2 separate regions of the Homo sapiens genome follow, and region 1 is linked to region 2. Evidence: promoter capture Hi-C in human tissues and cell types (Jung and others, 2019). All regions are on one chromosome and are shown on one strand. The core of a region is centred on a gene start or on the middle of the fragment in contact, and the rest is flanking DNA. Distances in the headings are between cores, read along the strand shown. Region 1 holds the start of DPF1 (double PHD fingers 1). Region 2 overlaps HNRNPL (heterogeneous nuclear ribonucleoprotein L).

Region 1 (4,889 bases), core at 1-2,500, 620 kb before region 2:
TATCCCTACCTGAACACATGCAGACACACAACACAAATCACACACAGTCACACGGGATTCACACACAAAGAGAGACAAATCCCAATACTCACAAAGGAGAAACAGACAAACCTCACACACGTGCACACATAAATATCTACTGAAAAAGACAAATATCCCAAGTTCCATAGTGTGGAGACAAATCACACAAATAACCATGCACAAAGACACATCACATATCCACAGACACACACCAGAAACACATCACCCACACAAAGACACACAACATGGAAACATCACACCACACACACATACACCCCCTCATGCATCCAAAGACACAAGCATGTCAAAAGACAGGAACTACAGAAACCACTTGCGCCCCTAGGCACTTACCCATGTATCCAAAGACACAACACAAACCACACACACAATATCCAGACACACAACACAAAGAAATCACACAGATTCACACAGGTACACACACACATTTACAAAGATGCACGATGCGCAACCAGTATCTAAAATATCACACATCCACACAGACACACACACATATAAAACACAGAAACAGCCAAATCCACCCATAGTCACACAAAAATTTACACACAAATACACGCAGCCCTACATACCCAAAAACACAGAACACAAGACAAATGACATATAGTTCCAAAGGACACGGACACACACTGGGAGACCCAAATATCCAAAGATATCTAGTGCAGAATAAAAGGAAACAGACACATGTCCACACACCTATCCCCCAAAAATTCTTAAAAAAACCAGAACACAAATAAGTGATACACACACACACTCCACATCCCAAGACAAAGGTAGTGTGGACTTCACTCCAGTTGCCAAGGCCCCCGCACCCCCGGGTCATTTCAGTCTCTCCCAGACCCGAGGGTTGCAGGGAAGGGATGATGTCTCCCTTCCCCAAAAAGAATCTGGAGGCCCCCCACGCCCTCCACCCCGCCAGGGAGCGGTGCATCCGACACCATTCTTGTCAGAGACCCACAGTCACACACTCTCGCACCCCCGCGCAGCCCCGCACTCGGTGACAGCCCCCCAGACACCCCTTCGGCCCCACCCCCGGTCGCCACACACACACAGGCCCGCGTAGACCCGCCCGCGCTTCCTCTCCGCCTCCCGCCGGCCCGCACCACCTCAGGGGGCCAGGGATGACAGTGGCCATCTTGCTCCCCGGGTCCTGCCCCCAGCAGGTCCCCGCCGGGTCGGTCCTCCCAGCGGTCGGGCGGGCGCTGAGGCCGCCCATCCATTCATTCCCGGGGGGCGGGAGCACGAGGGCCACGGCCAATCGCGGCGACGGGGCGGGCCCGCCCGGGCCATGCTGGGAGTGGTAGTCCCAGGCCAGGGGGCCCCCGGGACCCCGCGGGGACGGGACGGCGCGGAGGAGGGGCCCGGGGCACGCACCGTCACTCACCCGCCCTCACTCGTCCACATATCCTGCTCTCGCGTGCACACAACCACATGCACACCTGGACTCGCACACGCCCACGCATGGCAGTTTACACACACATTCACGCGGATACTCACAGCCTCCCACACACTCCTACTCACACACCTTCGCACGGACTCACACAGCCACACGCACACACACTGCAATACTAAGAGACGCAGAGACACCTCCCAGGTGCCCACACAGACTTCTCACCAACATGCTTCCAGCAGACACCCCCTCACCGCCCCCCACCCAAGTCCCTCCTGGCTCCAGAGACCCCACCCGGGGCTGTCTCTCCCAGCAGCCACGCTCACGGTCACCCCGCCCTGCTCAACGCCTTCTGCAGGCCTGACAGCAGCAGTGCAGGTTAGAAACAGTAGTCACACCTCCAGGGTTCAAATCCTAGCTCTGCCACTTGGTGGCCATGTGACCTTGGCAAATGACTTAACCTTTCTGGGCCTCAGTTTCCTCATCTGTAAAAAGAGGATGATGCCTCACTGGAGTGTTGTGAGGATTAAATGAGTAAATATAGGTAAAGCATTTTAAGAGGTGACTGGCAGGCCAGGCGCAGTGGCTCACACCTGTAATCCCGGCACTTTGGGAGGCCCAGGCAGGTGGATCACCTGAGGATGGGAGTTCGAGACCAGCCTGGCCAACATGGTAGTAGTCTCTACTAAAAATACAAAATTAGCCGGGCATGGTGGCGCATGCTTATACTCCCCCACTCAGGAGGCTGAGGCAGGAGAATCACTTGAACTCAGGAGGTGGAGGTTGCAGTGAGCTGAGATCGTGCCATTGCACTCCAGCCTGGGCAACAAGAGTGAGACTCCCTCTCAAAAATAAATAAATAAATAATAAGAAAGAAAGAATAATGCGGCCAGGTGCGATGGCTCCAGTCTGCAATCCCAGTACTTCGGGAGGCCTAGATGAGAGCACTGCTTGAGCCCAGGAGTTTGAGACCAACCTGGGCAACATATCCAGACCCCTGTGTCTACAAAAAAAAATTAAAATTAGCTGGGCATGATGGCGCAGCAGTGTAGTCCCAGCTACTTGCAAGGCTAAAGTGGGAGGATAGCTTGAACCTGGGAGGCTGAGGCTGCAGTGAGCTGTGGTCTCACCACTGCACTCCAGCCTGGGTGGCAGAGCGAGACTCTGTCTCTAAAAGCAAACAAACAAACAAACAAACAAACAAAAAACTAAGTAAGCAGGGCGCCGTGACTCATGCCTGTAATCCCAGCAATCTGGGAGGCTGAGATGAGAGGACCGCTTGAGCTCAGGAGAACAGCCTGGGCAACATAGCGAGACCTGGTCTCTACTAAAAAAAAAATAAATAGCTGGGCATGGTGGCACATGCCTATGGTCCCAGCTACTCAGGAGGCTGAGTCAGGAGGATTGGTTGAACCCAGGAGATCGAAGCTGCAGTGAGCTATGATCACACCACTACACTCCAGCCTGGACAACTGAGCAAGACCCTGTCTCCAAAAAAAAAAAAAAAAATAGATGCTCAGTAGATATTTGTTGAATGAGTAAATGCACCCATCATGTGCTGGGCACAGTTCACCCCGGGATGCTTTTATTATCTGCATTTTCCAGGTGAGGAATCTGAGGCACAGGAAGGTAACCTCACATGCCCGCATGCCCTGGCGGCTCTTTGAAGGTAAGACTGAAGGAAGGAGGCAGGCACCCCTGACGGCCCTCCCCAAGTAGTCCTGACCTCCTTCTCTCTCCCACTGTCACCCACACTGACTCCACCCGAAGAGATCCCCAGGGAGTGAGCAGACCCACTGAGTCACAAACTGACCCAGTCTCTCTGCAACACCACCACCCCGTCCCCCCTCCCGTCTCACCCCTCCTCCCCCTTTCCCCTTCCCACCCCTTCTCCCCCTTTCCCCTTCCCCTCTTCCACCCGGACCCCTGTAGAGCCAGCATTCAAATTTGGGCGGCTGCTGTAATTAACACGCCCACAAACGCCCTCATCCACCAGGGGGCGCCCCAGCCGACAGAAGTGGCCCGCTAGCCTTCACCATTTTTGTCACTTGAAATCCCCCCAAGAGAGAGATCCAGTCAAGGCCTCCTACACTCACGGTCACTTCTACACACACACACACACACACACACACACACACACACTCCTCTAGTCTTAGACCCTTTCCACAAACTCGCCCATCTAAGCCAGGTAAGGTCTTGGCCGGCCCCTCTCCTGGAACAGGAGGTAGGTCTCTGATTCACATATGGCCTGGAGTGGTGACAAGGGGATTAAGTGAGGGGCACTGACACCCCTACGATCACTCTGGCCTCCAGGGCCCTATAGTGGCCACCTCACACCTTACCCACGGTGAGCTGTGACCCCACCTTCCTCTCTCACCTCCCATTAGCTCACAGGTCCCGTAACACACCCTCTTACACTTGATTCCCACACCGCTAGCCTCAGACACGCAGACTCACTCCTGCCCCACCCCAAACTCTCATGTCGATTTGATTAAGAGAAGCCCGAGTGTAGACACTGAGTGCAGACCTTCCTAACAGTCCTCCTCTACCAGCAGAATTTCTATTTTTCTTTCTTTTCTTTTCTTCTTTTATTTCTCTTCCTTCCTTCCTTCCTTCCTTCCTTCCTTCCTTCCTTCCTTTCTTTCTTTCTTTCTTTTCTTCTCTTTCTTTCCTCTTTCTCTTTTTCTCTTTTTTTTTTTTGGACAGCGTCTCACTCGATGGCCCAGGCTGGAGTGCCATGGCATGAACACAGCTCGCTGCAGCCTCCACCTCCCAGGCTCAAGCGATCCTCCCACCTCAAACCCCCAAGTAGCTGGGACTACAGGCCTGTGCCACCGCACCCGGCTAATTTTTGTATTTTTGTAAAAACAGGGTGTCCCTGTGTTGGCCAGGCTAGTCTCAAACTCCTAAGCTCAAGTGATCTGCCCACCCTGCCCTCCCAAAGTGCTGAGATTACAGGCATAAGCCACCATGCCCGGCCCACCAGCAGGATATCTACCCACAGACGCAGGCTGACACTTGCAGCGGGCTCTCCTTTCTTTCCTTCTGCCCTAACCACCTGCACACACCACTCCCACATACTCTCCTACACACTTGAACTCCCAGTCCTCTCCCTGGCCCAAACAATCCTCCTGCCCCATCCCCCAATGCCCTGTGTGGGAGCTGGCCCACAGTAGAAATCAATTTCATAAATCAATATTGATACTACTAATAATAATCACTACATTTGGTCAGTGTCAGTCTCTGTGCTAACTGCTTTACAAAGATGGCCTTAGCCCCACGACAGTCCCATCGGGTGGTAAGGGCTGTTAGAAGCCCCCATACACAGATGGCAAAACTGAGGCTCACGGCAGGGAACATTCGTGGCTCAAGCTGGTTTTGGAACTCAGGCAGTCGGAACTTCCGAGGGCGGCACCCTGCAGCTCCTTCTCCCCAGGGGATTTGACTCACATTCTTTCAGGAG
Region 2 (5,251 bases), core at 1,666-4,165:
CCCCAGCTCCTGCCAACTGCAAGCCCTCCCTTCCTCGAGGGCTGTGGGGCCTCCTTTTGTGATCTGACCTACGGCGGGCATGAAGCCCGAGCCTCAAAGCTGGTGCCCACTCTCCTTCCCCTGCTCATACCAAAGGGCTGGCCTTGTTCTGTGAAGGACAAGGCCAGATTCTGTGCTCTCACCTACCCTGGCCCTGGGAGAAAGCCCAGCTCCCAGGCCCTCTGGGGAATGTGCAGCTGCTACAGAAGCTGATATATTATGGCGGGCCAAAAGCAGCTTTCTAAAGTGACTCCCAATGAAGGGAGAGTAGATTAAGAGGAAAATAACCCCAGAGGGAAGCAAGCAAGTTTGACCCCCAAAGCCCCCAAAGTTCTAGGAGCTCCAGACTGTCTCTGTTAGATCCCTTCTTTCTTAATCCCAGTCCCCCCTCCCTCCCAGTCCCGCCAGCCCAAGAGGGACTGACTGTAGCTGACAAGCAGGGCAACAGCAGAATCAGTTCAAATAAGCAATCATGTACAAGGCATCGACATTCCCACACCCAGCAATGGCGCAGATCCACCCCGACCCCAGCAGTTCGTAATCACTGCCTTTAACTTAGCGCTTAAGTGGCAGGCACTGGGCTAAGCGCTTTACAGACATCACAGCTTCTGAAATTCCTCACAACAACCCTATGAGGTAGGTTCTGATATTTCAGCCCCATTTTACAGATAAGAAGACTGAGTTGTTAACTTTTAACTGAGCAGTTAAAAGACACTTTGGCCCAAAGTCACAAAGCAAGACAGTGGCTGAGCCATATTTGAACCCAGGTCTGGCTGACTCCAAAACCCAGGGCTCGAAACCACTGCCCTTTCCTGCCACCCGGCCTGGGTTTTGTTACCAGTCATTACAAAATGGAAAAGGACTACTTACAGCAGAAGTACAGAGTACAATGTCCATTTGTCACAAAAAACAAATCTGTATTTTCTCTTACCATTGGACGCTTCAACAGTGAGTTAGCACAGTTCTGAAAGATGGCGTCCCATCAAACATACACTGCGACCCTGCATCACATGGTTTTACAGTCATAAATACAAGTCACGGTACACATCCGCTACAATTTTTTTAAAGAATTGTTTTAAAAGTCAATATTTTGATTAAATCAAAAATGGCTCACAGATGTTCTGTCCTCAGAAGATATCAGAAAAGTGGAAATAAAGGTGTATGAAGTGGGTAGTGTCCCTCCATGTTGTCACCTCCTCACATATGTGCTGCAGTGCGGTGGTGCGGTGCTTCTGGCTGTGTAGCGCTCCGTGTGCGTGTCTCCTGGTATGAGGTGTGCCAGTGGCCCCACTACGCTCGCGCTTTTGGCCTTGGGAGCGCGCCTGGTTACCCGGCAGCAGGTAACTGTGTGCCTCTGAGCTGTTTGGCTGTCTGGTTTTAGGTCTGTTTTGGTTTTTTTGATTTTTTTTTTGTTGTGGTTAAAATTTTTTTTTTTTTTTTTGGTTTCTGATCTCCAGTTGGTGCAGATTATGTTGGCAGCCGGTGACTGCAGAAAAAATAAAAATATCAAAACAGAAAAAAAACAAGGCCCTCCCCAAACCAAATGACTTAAAAAACAAAACCCATATGGCGAGGAATGGAGAGAGGATCCTATTGTCTTGGAGGCCCATGGAATCTACTTCCGTCTATGAAACGTTCTCCGAAAAGAGCATCGCTCGCTGGCTGGCTGGGACAGCTCTGTTCTCTGTGTTTCCTACTTCTGTGTACATTCTCGGGTTCAAGTTTGCTTGGATTTTGACCTTTTTTTTAATGTTTAATAAAAAAAGCAGTGTCTGCTGCCATGTTGCGTCTCTTTCTCTCTTTGTCTCTGTATGCCTCTGTCTCTGTGCTTGTAGCTGTTCCTTGGAGCGCGGTGTGGTGTTCTTGATGTAGTGAGCTCAAGTCTGCGGCTGTTTCTGGGGACGTGGTGGAGGCTGCATGTTCTGTTCTCTCCAGGAAGAGCTAGTGGTTTTCTACCCTGTGTGTTGGTGAGCAATGTGCAGAGGCAGAGCCGCTGAAGTATGGTTCCTGAGGGGTGGCGAAGCACCGCCCTCACTCCAGGTCACCTCATCAGCCCTCGTTTTTTTTTGGGCCCCAGCCTTGGGGCTGCCAAAGCTGAGAGGCATCAAAACCAATGCACAGCCAGCCCCCTGCCACTAGCCCCTGCCGGTCTGCACATCTTCTATTTATGTTCCTTGGAGAAGAAATGGTTGTTGCCATGTTTCTGTTAGCAGTCATGTAATGCCATTGCCCGCTCTGGTACATTCACTTGGTCACCAATTTGCCTCTGACCTTTGGAGGGAGCAGCCAGGCCCACAGGGCCCACTGTGAGGATCCTGGGGAAGAGTCTAGCCCACCCTGCCCACTGCTTCCCAGATGCAAGGGCGAGCAAGACAGGCCTGCCTAGGAATGGGGGGCTCTGGCCTCTCAGGGCCTGTGCGATGTCAGCATCGAGCCTCCTCCCTCAGCCCATGGCCTGGTCCGACGTATCAGACCAAGACAGACACCGAGATGGATGGTCTTGTTGGGGGGCTGCCGCTGTTTCTCATAGGCAATCCTCCACCTCTCCCTGCTACCAAAGGCAAACCATTCTTGACAGACACTAGGAAGGGAGTTGTCCATTTGGGCCACCTGCAGAGATGTTGCGTCCCCTCTACAAATGATGTGAGGCATGTCCGCCCTGGTCCAATCCAGAGTGTCTCACCTCCACAGGGTCAGCTTGCTCACAAGGCTCACTGCAAGAGCCCAGGAGACCTCATCGCCCCCCAACACTGTCACTCCCCCAAATCAGACCCTCTCAACAGCGCAGAACAAGAGGACAATTCCTGGTCCAGCAAGAATGGAGTGAGTGACCCTCACCAGACTCTCAAAGGAGCCACTGCTGGTTTCTAAGGCCGCCCCCACGCCTCATCCTCAGTGAGGCCCTGCTCCCCGCCCATCCAGGCTTCTGCCTTGCCTCTGTATCCTGAGCAGCATCGGAGGGCCCCAAGCAGCAGTGAAGACCCATGGAGGCCTCTCACTCCCCCATCCCACTAGGGTGTCCAAGTGCTGACCCCAAGGCCCTCCCATGTCCATGGGGGGCCCAATGGCATTACATAACCCTGAGCCCAGGCCTATTAAGTGCACTAGTCGAGTGAAAGCAAGGCGGGTATGTTTAGAACAAAGTGGTCGTCAAGATTACCTTGTCCACTGAGATTGGGGTTTGTGTAGTCCCAAGTATCCTGATCATTCTTGAACACATTCAAGCGTGTAGGCTGCAAGGACAGGACAAGACAAGACTTGAGGTCAGCCATGCCCCAGCTCACCTGGAAGCTGACAAGGGGCAGTCAGTCACCTCCCAGATGTACCTTTGCGTATTCGATCTTCAGAGTGCAACAGCCAGAATAGATATCAGCCCCATTGAGAGAGGCCTTGGCCCGCTGGGCACTTTGAACTGAGTCAAATGTGAGTCAAGTTAAGGAAAGTCCCATCACAGGAGATCTTTGAGAAGGGCTTCAAGTTACCCCAGAGTGTGATAAGGACAAGGTAGCACCCCAAGACTGTGGTACAGACGGAAGCTTTGGGATTAGCTCACTGCCCAGCCACTAGCCTCAGGTTAAGAGACCAAAACGGTGTTGATGGACTCAACGCTGCCCCGGGTGAGCAGTCACTGGCCAGAGTTCTCTCATAATCTGCACCCCGACCCATGGCCACCAGCAACCTCTTCTGCCACACCACTTTCTCCGTCTCAGCCCTCTCACACCCTTCGACTAAATCTGAAACATCAACTCGATTACAGCTCTGCCCTGAAAGTCCATCAGTGGCTTTTTCCTGCCCCTGCCCCAAGCATCGCAACGCTGTCTAGGATGCCCTAAAAGCTTCTTCCAATGTCTATTCCAAACCCGTCTGCTTGCCAGCCACTTTGCAATCCTCAGGTCTTTCAATTTCTCCATCCAACACAAGCTCCTTCTGACTTTACAACCTTTGCAGAGGCTGTTTCCTCCACCTTGAGTATAAGCTCCTATTTGCTCATAGGACATCACCTCCTCAGCAACCTTCACACATGCCCCACCTTTTTTTTTTTTTTTTGGATATGGAGTCTCGCTGTGTTGCCCAGGATGGAATACAGTGGCACAGTCTCGGCTCACTGCAATCTCCGCCTCCCAGGCTCAAGCGATTCTCCTGCCTCAGCCTCCAGAGTAGCTGGGATTACAGGCGTTCACCACCATGCCTGGCTATTTTTTGTATTATTAGCGACAGGGTTTCACCACGTTGGCTAGGCTGGTCTCGAACTCCTGACCTCAGGTATCTGTCCACCTCGGCCTCCGAAAGTGCTGGGATTGCAGGCATGAGCCACTGTGCCCGGCCCCATATCCCCTTTTAAATAAATTCCTTTTCCCAGGGGCACATTTTCTCAGGACCTCTTGAGACTATGTTCCCCAAATCTTTGTCACTCATATTTGAACTTAGAATAAACATCTTTAAAAATAAATTCCTAGCCAGGCGCGGTGGCTCACACCTGTAATCTGGGAGGCTGAGGCAAGTGGATTGCCTGAGGTCAGGAGTTCGAAACCAGATCTCTACTAAAAATAAAAAAAATTAGCAGGCGCCTATAATCCTACTAGGAAGGCTGAGGCAGGAGAATTGCTTGAACCCAGGAGGCAGAGGTTGCAGTGAGCTGAGATCGCACCACTGCACTCCAGCCCAGGCAACAAGGGCTAAACTCCATCTCAATAAATAAATAAGTAAATAACAGAAAGAAAACAAAAAGAAAAATAAATTCCTTTGTATCTCCCAACACACTGCTCTCTCCCCTAAGATCTGCACGTCCACACGATATGCCTGGTCCTTTAACTGCCTCCCTACTCAGTCACTGGGCTCTGTGAAGGCATCTGGCACATGGCAGCCACTCCCGTGGTCAGCAGACACATGCTGGCTCAAAGAATGGCCACTGTCAAGCCCTGCAAGAGTCCCTACCCTAAGGAACACCTGTTTTCCAGCAAAGGATATTCCACCATCGCCTGAACTCCATTCTTCCTGAAAATGACAATTCTCTGGACAGGGCCACAAGGATTACAGATAGTGTAAAGAACATCCTGCAAAAGCAAACACAGGCAAGATGAAGGGGCACTGGCAGATCAGTCTGGCTTGGGGGAGGGAATAAGGGGAGAAAAGGAAGGGAGACCTCACAAGAAATGCCTGCTGGCACGTACCGTGGTGATCGAATAAATGGGGTTCAGGATGGTAAAGAGAA

Evidence for each region. Contacts are between HindIII fragments. The study calls those that stand out against the background at their distance.
Region 1: the fragment with the promoter of DPF1 here is called in contact with a fragment that was not itself captured in region 2 in 1 of the 25 tissues and cell types used here (liver).

What each region holds. Positions count from the first base shown.
Region 1 is chr19:38,222,972-38,227,860 of GRCh38, forward strand. DPF1 (double PHD fingers 1) reads right to left here and starts at 1,251. Exons shown (of 12, transcript NM_001135155.3): 1 at 1,143-1,251. The coding sequence starts at 1,171. RefSeq lists a silencer at 1,016-1,585 and an enhancer at 4,508-4,889. The HindIII fragment of the contact is 15,736 bases long and covers 1-4,889 here.
Region 2 is chr19:38,840,643-38,845,893 of GRCh38, forward strand. HNRNPL (heterogeneous nuclear ribonucleoprotein L) reads right to left here. Exons shown (of 13, transcript NM_001533.3): 3 at 5,211-5,251; 4 at 5,008-5,093; 5 at 3,366-3,462; 6 at 3,200-3,272. Among named protein-coding and RNA genes, the nearest start is that of HNRNPL, 6.7 kb to the right of the region's middle. RefSeq lists enhancers at 2,107-2,186, 2,269-2,769. The HindIII fragment of the contact is 4,246 bases long and covers 793-5,038 here.